Linked DNA regions of Homo sapiens: regions 2 and 3 are each linked to region 1. Evidence: promoter capture Hi-C in 16 types of primary human blood cells and fetal thymus (Javierre and others, 2016). All regions are on one chromosome and are shown on one strand. The core of a region is centred on a gene start or on the middle of the fragment in contact, and the rest is flanking DNA. Distances in the headings are between cores, read along the strand shown. Region 1 holds the start of MRPS6 (mitochondrial ribosomal protein S6). Region 2 overlaps LOC105372790 (a long non-coding RNA gene). Region 3 overlaps LINC00649 (long intergenic non-protein coding RNA 649).

What was found. Contacts are between HindIII fragments. The CHiCAGO score rates a contact against its expected background, and 5 or more counts as called.
Region 2: a contact is called between a fragment that was not itself captured here and the fragment with the promoter of MRPS6 in region 1, in 2 of 17 cell types (total CD8 T cells and activated CD4 T cells). The highest score is 5.7, in total CD8 T cells.
Region 3: a contact is called between a fragment that was not itself captured here and the fragment with the promoter of MRPS6 in region 1, in 5 of 17 cell types (total CD8 T cells, activated CD4 T cells, naive CD8 T cells and 2 more). The highest score is 6.3, in total CD8 T cells.

What each region holds. Positions count from the first base shown.
Region 1 is chr21:34,071,642-34,075,907 of GRCh38, forward strand. MRPS6 (mitochondrial ribosomal protein S6) reads left to right here and starts at 1,937. Exons shown (of 3, transcript NM_032476.4): 1 at 1,937-2,104. The coding sequence starts at 2,060. It overlaps SLC5A3 (solute carrier family 5 member 3), which reads left to right and starts at 1,937. Exons shown (of 2, transcript NM_006933.7): 1 at 1,937-2,104. RefSeq lists silencers at 1,385-1,904, 2,195-2,594 and an enhancer at 1,848-2,798. The HindIII fragment of the contact is 10,607 bases long and covers 1-2,635 here.
Region 2 is chr21:33,987,778-33,992,580 of GRCh38, forward strand. The region is part of intron 2 of LOC105372790 (a long non-coding RNA gene); the gene reads left to right. Among named protein-coding and RNA genes, the nearest start is that of LINC00649, 59 kb to the left of the region's middle. The HindIII fragment of the contact is 1,384 bases long and covers 559-1,942 here.
Region 3 is chr21:33,969,259-33,974,018 of GRCh38, forward strand. It overlaps LINC00649 (long intergenic non-protein coding RNA 649), which reads left to right. Exons shown (of 3, transcript NR_038883.2): 3 at 1-1,928. Among named protein-coding and RNA genes, the nearest start is that of LINC00649, 41 kb to the left of the region's middle. RefSeq lists an enhancer at 2,422-3,111 and a silencer at 2,510-2,804. The HindIII fragment of the contact is 2,511 bases long and covers 1,033-3,543 here.

The DNA.
Region 1 (4,266 bases), core at 687-3,186:
TTCATCTCCATCTCCTACCTCCCATATGTCACAAATAGACGCATGGGATGTGAAATGGTAACCTCTGGGTAAGGTGACAAAGGTACTCTAATCTTGGCTTACGTGGACTACACGGTTAATCCACTGAATAACAATCAGCATCTTCATCTGTGTGGTAGGAGAACCGGAGGTCAGAAGGGTAGAGGGGCGGCTAAAAGTACTTTGTTTCTATTACTGTATGACCTTGGACTAGTTACAAAACTTTTTGTGCCTACATTTCCTAATCCCTAATATGGGGTTAACAGTGCTTGCCTCTGTTTAAAAAAATTACTCAGTGATGCTTACTAAAGCATGGTAAGAAAGACTTTATTCAGGACCAACGCGATGGGTACAGGGATCAGGGAAACCCGGGGAGAGAGAGTGGGCTCCAATTCTGAATGCAGCGTCGGCAAGTAGAAATTTATGGCCATGTAAAATCACTAAGAGTAACCATCGGGGGAAGAGGGATTCTGGCTCAACCGATCTAAAGGATTCTTGTAGAACTCAGGCCAGGGTGAAAAGACATGACTGGGGGATAGAGGAAGATGAGGAACCTGATCTGCTATGAGGGGATGGGGGTTCTGTGCTAGAACTGGATTTTACAAGGAAGTGCACAGATGGGCCTAGCATGAGATTCAGAAGCCTGACTAAAGTTTGGCCAAGCAAAGAATCTTTGTCACCTCAGGGCTGTTGTGAGAATTTTAGGAGACACATCCACCAGCCTTGGCATGGGGCCTGATGCAGAGTAAGTGTTCACTAAACTTTACCTATTAACGTTAAAGCACTTTAAGTTGACAAACACTCCACGTACAGAGCTTTTAATGGGGCAAACAAGGGGCAGAGGCCTCAGCTGCAGGGTACTCAACCTCTAAGGAAGGGCGCTGGAGAAAACTGCACTTGCAGAGCCCCTGGCTGGAGGGCGGAGAACCATGTGGGTGTAAAGGGATGGCAAGGGCAGAACGTATGCCCCTGCCCACCTTAGACAGTTGCTAAAGGGTCTCCCAGGCACTCAGCCTAGCCTTTAAGTGAAAGCGGAGGAAACATTTAAAGAAATGAGATAGAGTTAAGGTGTTCGCCTGCCCTCCGCTGAAACACGTGGGGGCAGGTCAGGGGCACACCACAAATGCCCGTATCGCGCCTGTGTGTACCAGGCACCGTCCTCGGAGGTTAACGTGCAGTAACTCACTCGGGTCCCCACTTTCGGCACAGGCAGCAGGCCCAAGGTCACGCAGTGCCAAGGGACTGAGTCAGACCCGAGCCCGCGCGCCGCGGCCCACGGCCTGTGCCAGCGCGCTCCTCGCCGGGTAGGGGGCCTGGTCAGCCGCGTCAGACCTGAGAGTTGTGGCTGGGGGCGAGAGCTGCACCCCCCTACCGACCCCGGGCGGGAATGTTCCAGAACCCCTGCGAGCAGCCGTTGGCCGCACAGCCCCCGGGCCGGCCGCGACCCCGCCTTGCGCCGCGAAGGTCCCTAGCTCCGGGGAGTCGCGGGCGAGGGGCACGCGCACGGACGAGACCGCACCGCAGCGCACGCGCACTGGCGGGCACTCACTCGCCCGCCGCCCGGGAGGAGAAGGAAGGCATGGAAAGTTCCAGCCGGTTCGAGAGCTAGGTAGCAGGCATGGCAGGAGGCGGGGTAGGGGCAGGCAGGGTCGCGAGGGGGCGTGCGGCCGCCGCGAGCCGCTCTGGGCCGCGTCTGCAGCACCGCCCCTAGCCGCGGCCGGCGGGCTGGGCTGGGGTCGGGGCGGGGGCGGTGCGGCGGGTGCGGGGCTGCGGAGGGGGCGTGGCGGCCGCCCGCGGGCGGAGAGGGGGCGGGGCGGCGGCAAGGCGCGCGGGCGGGGCGGGGCGCGCCGAGGGGGCGTGGCGCGGCGTCTGCGCAGCTGCCAGCGCCTTTAAGCCCGGGCTCGCGCTCTCGGACCGTGCTTTCGCCGCCTGGGAGCCGTCCGGCGCAGCAGTTTCTAGGTCCCCACTGTCCCCGCCGTCCCGCCCCTTCGCGTCCCGGGAACCGGCTGGCTTCCGAGCCGCACTCGCCGATCCTCCAGGCATGCCCCGCTACGAGCTGGCTTTAATCCTGAAAGCCATGCAGCGGGTAAGTGACCTTCCCTCAGAGCCGGTCTTCCCGCGCGGGCGCCCCCGCTGCCGCTAGGCCGCCGTCCCCCGCGCGCCCTGGCCGCGGGACCCCGGGCCTTCCTGCACTCCTCGGAGGAGGCCGGGGCGGCGGGCGGGCGGCGGGCGTCCGCGGGAAGGGGGCGCGCGTGGGCCGGCCGGGCCCGGCCGCGTGCGCGCGGGAGGCGGGGGTGTGCCTGCGCGTGTGCGCGGTCCGGGAGGGTGTGCCTCGCAAGCGGCCCGCCGGGCGGGGGGCGGGGCGGACCGAGCGGGCCCCGACCCCGATCCCGGCGCCGGCCCGCGGGAGTCCAGTGGAAGGTCCGCGGGAGGACACGCGCGGGCGCCCAGCCCGACTCCGGCCCGTCCCCGCCAGTCGTGAAGCTGCCTCGTCGCCGGCCCCGCCGCCGCCGCCTGGTCCGTCCCGCTCCGCCGCCCGCCGGCTGCCGCCGACCGCCTCCGCTCTAGCGCCCGCCGGCCGCCCGGAACGTCCGCGCCCAATAAAGCGTTCCTCCAAAGCTTGTTTGTGCCGTTGTCTGTATTCCAGTCTCTTGCAATCGCTCTCATGTTAAAAAAAAATCTTTTGACTTTTCTTTTTCTGACTTCAGCGAAAATCCCGCTCCGGGTGCCCTTAGCCCAGTTTCATTCATCCAAGTTGTGGCCTTTCTTGCGCCTCCAGAAGACACTTTCTTCCCCCTGCTTTTGATTGATCTTGAGGTAGGGGATTTCAGGTTTGGAGGGATGCTAAGCGAACCAGCGGCCCCTTTCAGGTGACGGCGTGGCCAAGGACAGGGGCCCGCGGCCCGGAGGCAGCTCACTTCGTCCTCTGTCCTGGGTCATGTACTCCTCAAGTCGTCGCCGAAATCCCCATTCTCCCGTGAATTCGGAATTCGGTAACGTAGTTTGGTGTTATGTTTTTTTTTCTCCACCAGGTGTAATAAAACAAAAATCATTGTACCACGTCCGAACTTTGTAAGCACAGCTTCCTACAGCGCTAGAGGAGTGGACGCATTTTTACGTTTGAAATTAGGCTCCAGGTCAATTGCGAGGAGTATTACCAAGTTTGGTTGAACTTAAGCTCAATTGATAAACTAACAATCACGGAGCGTCGGGAGATTGTTAGGAAGTGTGCTTTGCATATTGTTAACTGGGAAGGGACGCCAGTGCCTCTCTATGAGGTCCAGACAGCCTGGCCAGGCATGCCATTGTGTCCCCCAGCTTGTTCTTCATGGATTTGGAAGAAGTTAAGATAGTATCTGTTCAGCCTCTTGAATATCCCTTTTGGCCCTCCTCCTTGCTTACCAGCATATGTAACTCCGAAAGGATAGGAGCAGTGAAAACAAAGCATTATTAAAAGGGAAGATTTTTAATTAGGTGGAAGTTGTTTAAGCCCTCCCTTCAACTTACGTGTTTTAGGGAATGTGGAACCTGGGAAATTCGTTACTGAAATTCCTTTTGTTTACTTTCCTTGTCTTGGGGAGGTAGCAGGTGACACTGAAAGAGGCAACCTGTAGGCAATAATATTTGCTCATTCTGTAACCCTTTGAAACCTTTGAAATGAAGACTTGCCCTCCCCTTTGTTTTTGCCATAGTTGCCAAGTATCTTGGTTAACATGGCTGCAAGTATTAAGTGTATTTCTTTTACCATTTTTTTTTATGTCCTGTAATAACATAGCCTTTGGATGTGGAGCACCCATTTTTCACTCTAGTTCAGATCAACAGAGCGTAATTTGGTTAAAATAATAAATAACCTTCCTTGAAATCTTCGCATGAGGGAAGGGGGGCAAAAAAAAGAAAAAAAGCCCTAGAAAGTAGATAATAAAGGTGAACTGCCTCTTGGAGAAAGAGGCCCCATGGCAGTAGATAGAAGGTTGTAACAGTGGTGACTTATGTACAATGGCGAAGTTATGTTGAGGAGATCCTTGACCTAAATAAAGTAATATTAAACAATAGCTTCTCAGTTATTTGTTCAAAAACCTATCTGTAGCTTGTAAATGTGGCACAAACACAAAGACTTCCAGGTTTTAGACCAGTTTGCTTGCTTTCAGTTTAGGAAAATAGGATTCTAAAATAGGATGAATGTTTGGGGGGAAACGAATTTAAAAAGTTAACTCTAGGCTTATGAAATGAAAAATGCGACTGTGAGCT
Region 2 (4,803 bases), core at 1-2,500, 85 kb before region 1:
TCTGAGGGAGACTGAACACAGTTCTTCTGGATGCAAACTCAGTTCTCATTTCCCAACCTGACTCAGCCTCTGGGTGGAGGCAGCTTCTTTAGAGAGGACGCGCATCTGATGTCCTTGCAGAGAAACCCTCTGCAGAGGCTGCTGGATTGGCAAGGGCATAGGGGAGGGGACAGGGTGGGTGCAGCCCAAGATCACTGGAGTTCCTGGGAAGCGGGGAGTCTGTGGTTCTCTAATGGCTGATTTTTCTGGGGAAAAGGTGGTGTTGACTGTCCCAGCTTGGATGAGAGGATTTGCGCATTGCATCTGAAACCAAGAAAGACTAGGATCGTCTTTGGAATGTTTGGGATGGTTGATTCCGCTAAGGACTATTCATAAGGCACATTTACCAGCTCTCCCTTAGGTCTTTTCATGAACATGTTTTTATTAGTTCGTTCTCACACTGCTATAAAGAAATACCCGAGACTGGGTAATTTATAAAGAAAAGAGGTTGAACTGGCTCACAGTTCTGCAGGCTGTACAGGAAGCATAGTGGCTTCTGCTTCTGAAGAGGCTTCAGGAAGCTTCCAATCATGGTGGAAGGCCAAGGGCGAGTGAGGCACTTCACGTGGCTGGAGCAGGAGGAAGGTGCAGGGGAGGTGCCACACACTTTTAAACAAGTAGATCTCACGAGAACTCACTCACTGTCACGAGAACAGCACCGAGGGGATGTGCTCAACCATGAGAAATTGCCCCCATGATCCTGAACAAGCACACAGAACAGGCTGCCCCTGCTGCTAGAAGGGCTTCTTGTGGGCCCCCTTCTAACCCCCACCAGCTCCTGAGTTAGAATCCAGGAGGGTGCATCTGATTGGCTGGACCTAGGTCATGTGCTTGAGCCCTAGCAGCCCCGGCAGCAAGGGAGGCTGGAAAAGGCAGGAGTGAAGGGGCTCAGCTTCTGTACTAGGAGGTTCCACGCCCTGCCTCCTACACGATTCATACATAAATAGAGGATTCCCTGAACCCAGGAAGGGAGTTCAGATGCTGGGCAGCCAGGATAATTACAAATATTCTCTACGTTAGGGTGTGTGTGTATGTACAGGGCAGGGCTGGGATGAGCAGGGTGGTTAAGAGAATGAGATTTGGCATCACACAGATGGGTCTGAGGACCAGCAATCTTCACTTATTATCTCTCAGTCCTGGCGATATACAGCCTGTCCCAGCCTCAGTTTTCTTGTCAGCAAAACTGGGATACTAATGCCTATTTCACAAAATGGTAGCCTTATTATTCTTATAGTAGATGTTATTATTAGGAATATTGTGATAGCAATCATAACATGGTGTACCCATCATGTTATGATACCTCGGTCATGAACTGTAAGCCTATGTGTAAGGCCTGGTTAGATTGACCTTCTAATTTTTTACATGTCTCTCCAGCACAGATGGTCAAATCAGCTTTTGAGGCCTGAGTCCTGATACAGTCCTCAAAAGGCAGGTGCTTTTTTTTTTTTTTTTTTTTTTTGAGATGGAGTTTCACTCTTGTCCAAGTTGGAGTGCAGTGGCTCACTGCAACCTCCGCCTCCTGGGTTCAAGCAATTCTCCTGCCTCAGCCTCCTGAGTCGCTGGGATTACAGGCTCCTGCCACCATGCCTAGCTAATTTTTGTTATTTTTAGTAGAAATGGGGTTTTGCCATATTGGCCAGGCTGGTCTCAAACCCCTGACTTCAGGTGATCCGCCTGCCTTGGCCTCCCAAAGTGCTGGGATTACAGGGGTGAGACACTGCGCCCAGCCAAAGAGCAGGTGCTTTTAAAAGGATTAACCTAAGCTCTAAGTATAAAGTTTTTATTGCTGTTTTATCCTATAGTGTAATGACCCTCTAACTTTTAATTGTATATATATCTATAAAATATATAGTCTTATATAGCAATGTCTGGTTGGGTGTGCCCAAAGTCCTTTATAGCTCTAAGCTTCAGAAAAGTAAATAGAAGAAGAAGATAATTAAAAGACTAAGATAAAATAAAACAATTGTCTTTCCCACTGGAATTTGGAGGAGATGGAGTTTGCAAGTAGGAGAGTTGGAGGGGTAGTTCAGCAGCTGGTTTTATCGGCAAATAGGCCAGTTAGGAGGGGTCGCTGAGGTTTATTACATGAAATCCTCAATGGGTGGGCACTGCAGCACAGAGCAACCTGGAGTGTGTGGGGTGGGTACCCCAGTCAACACACACAGGACTCTTGCAAACAGGCTCCTTGACTGACATGCTTCTGTATAACTTTCATAAAAAGATATTGATGTTCAGAGTAATCCTGGGGCTATGTAGATCCAGAAACCGTCAAAGAAAGTTTAGATTCTACTCAGTAGATTTTTACCATGAAGCACATTTCACCGTGTTCTCATTCTTGGAAACTTAGGGATGGATGAGTGATGTTAATTGCAGTTTGCAATTCTCTGTCGACCACAATGTTGAACACAGCGGGATACTCTGTTCTCATGCCTACGTGAATAGCTACCTAAATCTGATTGTTAAGTAGGCCCATAAGGTTTACAGGACAGTTTTTTTTTTTTTTTTTTTTTTTTTTGCACATAGGGAAAAAGATGAGTCATGGTACATGGTTGATTTCTGGATTGTATCAAATTGGGAAGAATTTATGTAATCCCAAACTGGTATATTTGCACCAAAATTCTTGATAATGACAGGTTGAGGCTGGGTGTGGTGGCTCATGCCTGTAATCGCAAAGTTTTATATATTTTTTTGGGAGACCGAGGCAGGTGGATCATTTAAGATCAAGAGTTCGAGACCAACCTGGCCAACATGGTGAAACCCTGTCTCTACTAAAAGTACAAAAATTAGCCAGGCATGGTGGTGCGTGCCTGTAGTCCCAGCTACTTGGGAGGCTGAGGCACAAGAATTGCTTGAGCCTGGGAGGCGGAGGTTGCAGTGAGCTGAGATTGTGCCACTGCACTCCAGCCTGGGCAACAGAGTGAGACTCTGTCTCAAAAAAATCAAAAAGGAAAAAAAAAAGACAGGATGGTGTGATGAGTAGAGATTTACAGAAAGCAGTTTTCCCTCAGAAAGGAGGAGGGGAGTAGATGGAGGACAGTCCTCTGGGAATGGTGAGAGCTGGGTAGAGGAAGTGGGTTTTGAACGATAAGTTTGAAGAATTCATTCATTTGGTCAACAAATGTCTACTGAGCACCTACAATACATCAGGCAGGGTTCTAGGCACTGGGGATACAATAGGGAACAGAACAGATAAGTCTCCTGCCCTCATGGTAGGTGTGTGGTTTTCAGGTTACTCTGGAAAAAGGATGAACATTGGGAAAGATGGAGGAGAGAGTGAGTATTGTGTAGAGGACTGTAGGTAGGCTTGCTTCTTTTATACATTCGTTCAATTAATCCAGCATTTATGGGCCATCTTCCCTGGGCAGATTTTATGCAAGACACTGGGGATACAGAGATGACGAAGTCTTATTTGAGAAGTTCAAAGTCTGGAGCATGGAGGCACAGACTTTATGGAACAGGATGACTGAGGTCTGGTAGAAGCAGGCTCAGAGGAAAAATATGCTAATCTTGCTAGAGAGGATTTGAAAAGCTTCCTAGAAGGAAAGAAAGGATGCTGACTGCCAGCCTTTAGAGACAGCTGAGAGCTTGCCAGGTAGCAGAGAGAGCGGAAGAAGATTCTAGGCAAAAGGAATGAGAAGACATCTATTGGGGGAAGGGAGCACTAAAAGAAGGCTGTCAGGCAGGGGAAGGCTGATGGTGGAGAGCCTTTATGGGAATTGTGATTTTAATTTAATTTGAGACATGATGGGGGCCACAGCCAGGTTGAGGAGGTAACTCCATGAAAATTACATTTGAGGTTGATGACTTCTGTGTGCTTGTTCAGGATCATGTCCTTAAACAGGGAATACTCATTAGCAAACTAATTAAGGACCTTAACAGGAGGGACGGTAATTTGTTGGGTTTTAGAAGACTTAGTACAATAAATATATTGATTGAGTTTGGGTTTGCCAAGGAATTAAAGAGTCCGCACTTCCCTAATAAAAATAAAATGAAAATACTTTTTTGGAAAACTGACAGTAAGGCAGTAATGACTATAATAAACCAGAAGTCCTTCGTCCACAAACCACTGTGGTTGACAATAAGGGATTAAACATTACCTGAATTGGTAGAGAAATTATTAATAGCTGTTGCTTTTTAAAAATAGACATTTACTGCCAGTCTCTGGGGAGGAGGGAGAAGCAGAAAGGTGCAGGTGCTGATGGCTTTGAAGGGCATTAGCTGTGCCTCTTCCATTCTCATTTTCTCTTCCCTCATTCCCTTTTCCAAACTGAGAACCTGGATTCCATGTCCAGGTGGGCAGAGGGAGGAGGAGGAAGACGTGGGAGATGGCTGGAAAGAAGAACAAGCCAAATTCTTATGTACTTCTGGGCATGCTTGTGCTCCTGTTTTAATTTTTTATACCTTGCAATTTAGTGAACTTGGAGCTCCAAAACGTCTGTTGAATCTTGCCTCGGTGCTCTGGTTCTCAGCCTTGGTGGCAGCAGAAACCCTTAAACAAAAGGTTGAAAACTGCACGTTCCCAGCGCTTTCCTCCCCGCCCCTTTCCTGGGTTTTCTGTTTACTGGGATGTGGAGAGGAAGTGCAAACTCTGTAGTTTCTAAAGTTCCACAGGGGGCTTTGGATGCTTTACCTGGGGTTGAGGTACTGACTTGGAGGCTCACTTGTTGTATTAGTCTGTTTTTATGCTGCTGATAAAGACATACCTGAGACTGGGTAATTTATAAAGAAAAAGAGGTTTAATGGACTCACAGTTTCACATGGCAG
Region 3 (4,760 bases), core at 1,038-3,537, 100 kb before region 1:
TCCGAGACAACCTGAAGACGCCCAGCTCAGCAGAGACTGGCTACGGCAATCACTCAGTAACTATTTGTTGAATTGGACATAATAGAAGAGCTGAAGAATTTTAAACAAGTCACCATCAGTGCAGTGGATTCCTCAAAGCAAACCTGGAAATCTCGGCATGAGTTGGATTTAAGGCAGTACATTTTCAGCTCCTGAAAATTTGAACAGTTTCTCAAGAGAACAACTTGAAACAGAAAGGCAAGGATGTAGATGTGGTTGTAGAAGATGATGTCTGCGGCCACCAAACTGTCCACTGTGAAGACAAACCATGCATGTTTAGTAGGCAGTGGCTCCTCTTCCCTGTGGGGAGTCCCACTGCTTCCCTGGCCTGGGTGTTCTCTGCCGGTAGATGTTATTGACAAAATAAGCAAAGTCCTCTGATTCTGAGAATTAGAGTTAATGATAGCTCTAGATTGCCTCTGCCATGCTATTTAAAGTCCTGCTTTATTGTCTGACATGAGTTCGGCATCTATGAGGACTTGTCCAGTGCAAAGTACAATCTCCACTGAAAGATATCACCAGCACATCTTGTCACTGTGCTGTAGCAAGCTGGGCAGTACAATGATGTTGGCAGGATCCTGTTTAGGTGGAGGATGGCCACCTGGGCATCAAGAATCTTCTACCCTGATTCCACATTGACTCCCCAAAGTGGGCTTCAGACAGCTCTTTACTTACGTCTTCTGATTAAAGCAGCAGACAGGGTCCCAGCTAGAGAAAAGTTCTGGGAGCAGGAGAGGTGTTGGTGGCTTTAAAACCAGGGGTGAAGATTGAATTAGGAGGTTAGGCAGGAGTAGGATCAAAGACTTAGAAAATGCTTGTTTCCTCCTATTATTCTTATGAGAGCTGATACGGGGCTTTCAGTTTTGGGGGAGAGCCTTGGAAGAGAATGAGGGAATTTAATCAACTAGCGGGACCTTTCCAACTTACATTTCCCAGTGTTTGTTGGATGATACGTTTGCCTAATAAGTTAAAGCTTCCAAAAATAGAAAGGAAAGCTTGGTGACACTAAGCTCTGGCATGCTGTCATCTTCTGGCTAGGGGTCTTGTGCTTCTGTTTTTCTATTTCTGACCAAAGACATAAAATGTGTTGTGACCTCTCAGGTAATGCTGTGGTATCATGTCCAAGCAGTAACTAACCAGAGTGGAGTTTTTACAGGTAAAAAAGTATTGAATAGCTCAGCAACAGGGAGGACTTAATGATAAATTGCTTTTTCAGAAAATGACAAGGGGACAGACACTTGCGGTTCTTCCATTGAGAGCCTTAAGGAAGTTAAGCGAAGCCTCTGCTCACCCCTTCAAGTAACGATGACCCATCAGATCGTGGTCATAACCAGTAGCATCTGAGGCACCCCTAAGCTCTCTGGGCCCCAGATTCCTTGTTAAGTTAAATGAGGTGACTTCCCAGTTTACCATTCTAGGGGTTCCTGAGGAGTTAAAAATGAAGGAGAAAATGCAACATGTACCAAGTGAGCAAGAGCTCAAGGCTTATCTCTGGCACGAAAGTGACCGCTGTCCGTTAGAGATGTGATTGCCCTAGATTTCCTTTAGGAAATGCAAACATTGAACTCTGGCCTTCAGGACCCAAGTCCCGGCTTGCATCTATTCTATACACTTTCTGTTATTTGTTAGGGCTCACAAGGAACAGTTATTTATCTTTTATTTTCTATTTTTTTTTTAGAGATGGAGTCTCACTCTGTCTCCCAGGCTGGAGTGCAGTGGTGCCATCTCAGCTCACTGCAACCTCCACCTCCCGGGTTCAAGCAATTCTCCTGTCTCAGCCTCCTGAGTAGCTGGGACTACAGGCGTGTGCCATCATGCCCGGCTAATTTTTAGTATTTTTAGTAGAGGCAGGGTTTCACCATATTGGCCAGGCTGGTCTTGAACTCCTGATCTCAAGTGATCTACCCTCCTTGGCCTCCCAAACTGCTGGAATTACAGATGTGAGCGACCACACCTGGCCCATTTGTTTTCTTTCAAACCCTTCTGTAAGACCAGTGCTTTAGGTGAACACGTGGACAGAACAAGATCATCACTATTTTGCAATATGAAGACCAACTGCGCTGTGACCAGAAAAACAGAGGCAAAATGTTGAGCTTAATGATACCTTTTTATAATTTGTATTTGGTGTTTCTCAATTTTCCATTGGATAGTTTGAGAGATAAGTACAAGTCAATGACATGTTCTCTTTCGTACCCTATTGTCTAATCCTGCTAACACACACACACACACACACACACACACTGATTACCTAATTTATCTGTTCCCCGATTATTACACTCTCAATTGCTGCAGAGTCTCAGAAGCAGCATGGTGTAACAGAAAGAATATGAGGCTTAGAATCCAAAAGCCAGAGTGTGAATTCCAGCTCCACTGACTTGCTGCGTGACTTGAAGCAAGTCATTACGTGTCTCTGTTTACTCATTTTATGACTTTCCTATTGCCTCTGTAATATAGCACCACAAACGTGTGGACTTAAAACAACATGCATTTATTCTCTTAGCGTTCTGGAGGTCAGGAGTCTGACATCAATTTCGTTGGGCTAAAATCAAGATGTTGGTAGGACCAAGATCCCCGTGGAGGCTCTGGGAGAACCCATTTCCTTGCCTTTGCCAGCTTCTAATGCTGCATTCCTTGCATTCCTTGATTGTTGACCTCTTCCCCCATCTTCAAAGCCAGCAGAACAGCACCTTGTTTCATTGCCTTCTTTACTGTCAAATCTCCCTCTGCCTTCTTCTTATAAGAACACTTGTGGTTGCATTTAGAAGCTGTGATAATCCAGAATAATATCTTTATCTCAAGATCTTTGACTTGGTCTCTTCTGCAAAGTCTCTTTTGCCACAGAGGGAAATATTCACAGGTCCCAGGGGTCAGGCTGTGTACGTCTTTGGGGGACTTTATTCTGCCTACCACACTCATCTTTTTTTTTTTTTTTTTTGGATGGAGTCTTGCTCTGTCACCCAGGCTGGAGTGCAGTGGCATGATCTCGGCTCACTGCAACTTCTGCCTCCCCAGTTCAAGCAATTCTCCTGCCTCAACCTCCCAAGTAGCTGGAATTACAGGCGCCTGCCACCACGCCCGGCTACTTTTTGTACTTTTAGTAGAGATGGGGTTTCACTATGTTGGCCTGGCTGGTCTTGAACTCCTGACCTCAGGTGATTCCCCCACCTTGGCCTCCCAAAGTGCTGAGATTACAGACGTGAGCCACCATGCCCGGCCCCACACTCATCTATTAAGTAGAGCTAGGAATTCCTATCCTAAGGGACACAAAAATGAAAAAAGATAAAATTTGTGAAGAGGCACATAATGAAAGCCCATACATGTCACTGAGTTCAGAGGAGGGTGGGTCTGACCTCCCATTGGCTGGTCTCTGCCTGATGGACATCGTGAAGAAGAGAGCCAGGACTAGTGTGGCTGGGGGATGTTCAGGGGCCAGAGTGGCTTCAGGTGCCAGCAGCCCTGGCCGAAGGATGACTCCAGGAGCAAGGCTCAGAGCCGAGTGGAAGAAGCTTCATAAACGCAACTGAGCCAAGCATGATGGGATGTGCCTGTGGTTCCAGCTACTCAGGAGGCAGGTGGGAGGATGGCTTGAGTCAGAAGTTCGAGGCTGCAGTGAGCTATGATCACACTACTGTACTCCAGCCTGGGTGACAGAATGACACCCTGTCTCTAAAAAGAAAAGGCACCTGGATGCTCATGACCGAGATGGGGTGGGGTGGGTGGGGTGGGACAGCCGCACTTTATAACTTTGCTTTCAGCATGATGTGGATTAGTGTCTCCCATGTGGGAAAATTATGTTTACCACTTAGAGACCTGATAGTGCTTGCTTACCCCATAACGCTGGACGGTGGCAGGCTTAACTCCCCCATCAAGGGCCTTAATGTATTTGGGGCCCTAGTCCTAGCAACAGCAGCAAATCTCCTTTTTCTTTTCCTCGAGCTGGTTGTTCACCAGGCAGTTGGGATGTTAATGGGAAGAGAAGACACACACAAGTCCCTTGTTTTCAATAAGGCAGTCTGGTCACGTCCTTAGCAGGTTATTAATCTTTTTCAAACCCCTCCTCTCCACCAAGTTTTATGATCCTGGGAAGGAGATTCCTACCTAGCATCCTTAGAGTTATCGGGGGTTAGGATCGGTGCATGCAGTCACTTCCGTGGAATCATCAGTAGCCCTCCAGCCTCTGGGGAGAGCTGCCAGTGGTCAGAGATGTTGGGAATTACGAGGGAGGAGCTAGGGAGAAGGAACTCACAGTCCCTCAGTCTCTGAAGGTGGCTCCTGGCAGGAGAGGGGGCCAGTCCTAGATAAGAGCTCTCCCAGGGAATTCCAAGGGTCCTCCCAAGGTCCAGCCACAAGATGAGGAATTACTGTTGGGCTCTTCCTCAGATGTGCCTGTGAATTCATATCACAGATGCTTGATGCATTTGACAATTGTTTAATTGCTTGAGCCCAACTGATACTCTTTCAGTCACTTTAAGGGAGTGATTTCAAGTATGATCATTGCCTCAAATCTGTATGGCTTTCCTTGCCTTTCAGGTGCTTTAAGAGGGCTTATGTTCTTTGACTCCCCTAGTAACTCAAAAGGGTGGCTAAGATGCAACTCTGGAGGTTTCCAAGCTCTCTGCAAAGCCTGCCTTCAGTAGTCTGTGCACCACAAGAAGCATAACTTTATTATCCTCTAGCTGAATTTACCTCCTGCTTCGAGCCCCTGTTTTCCCATGTCATTT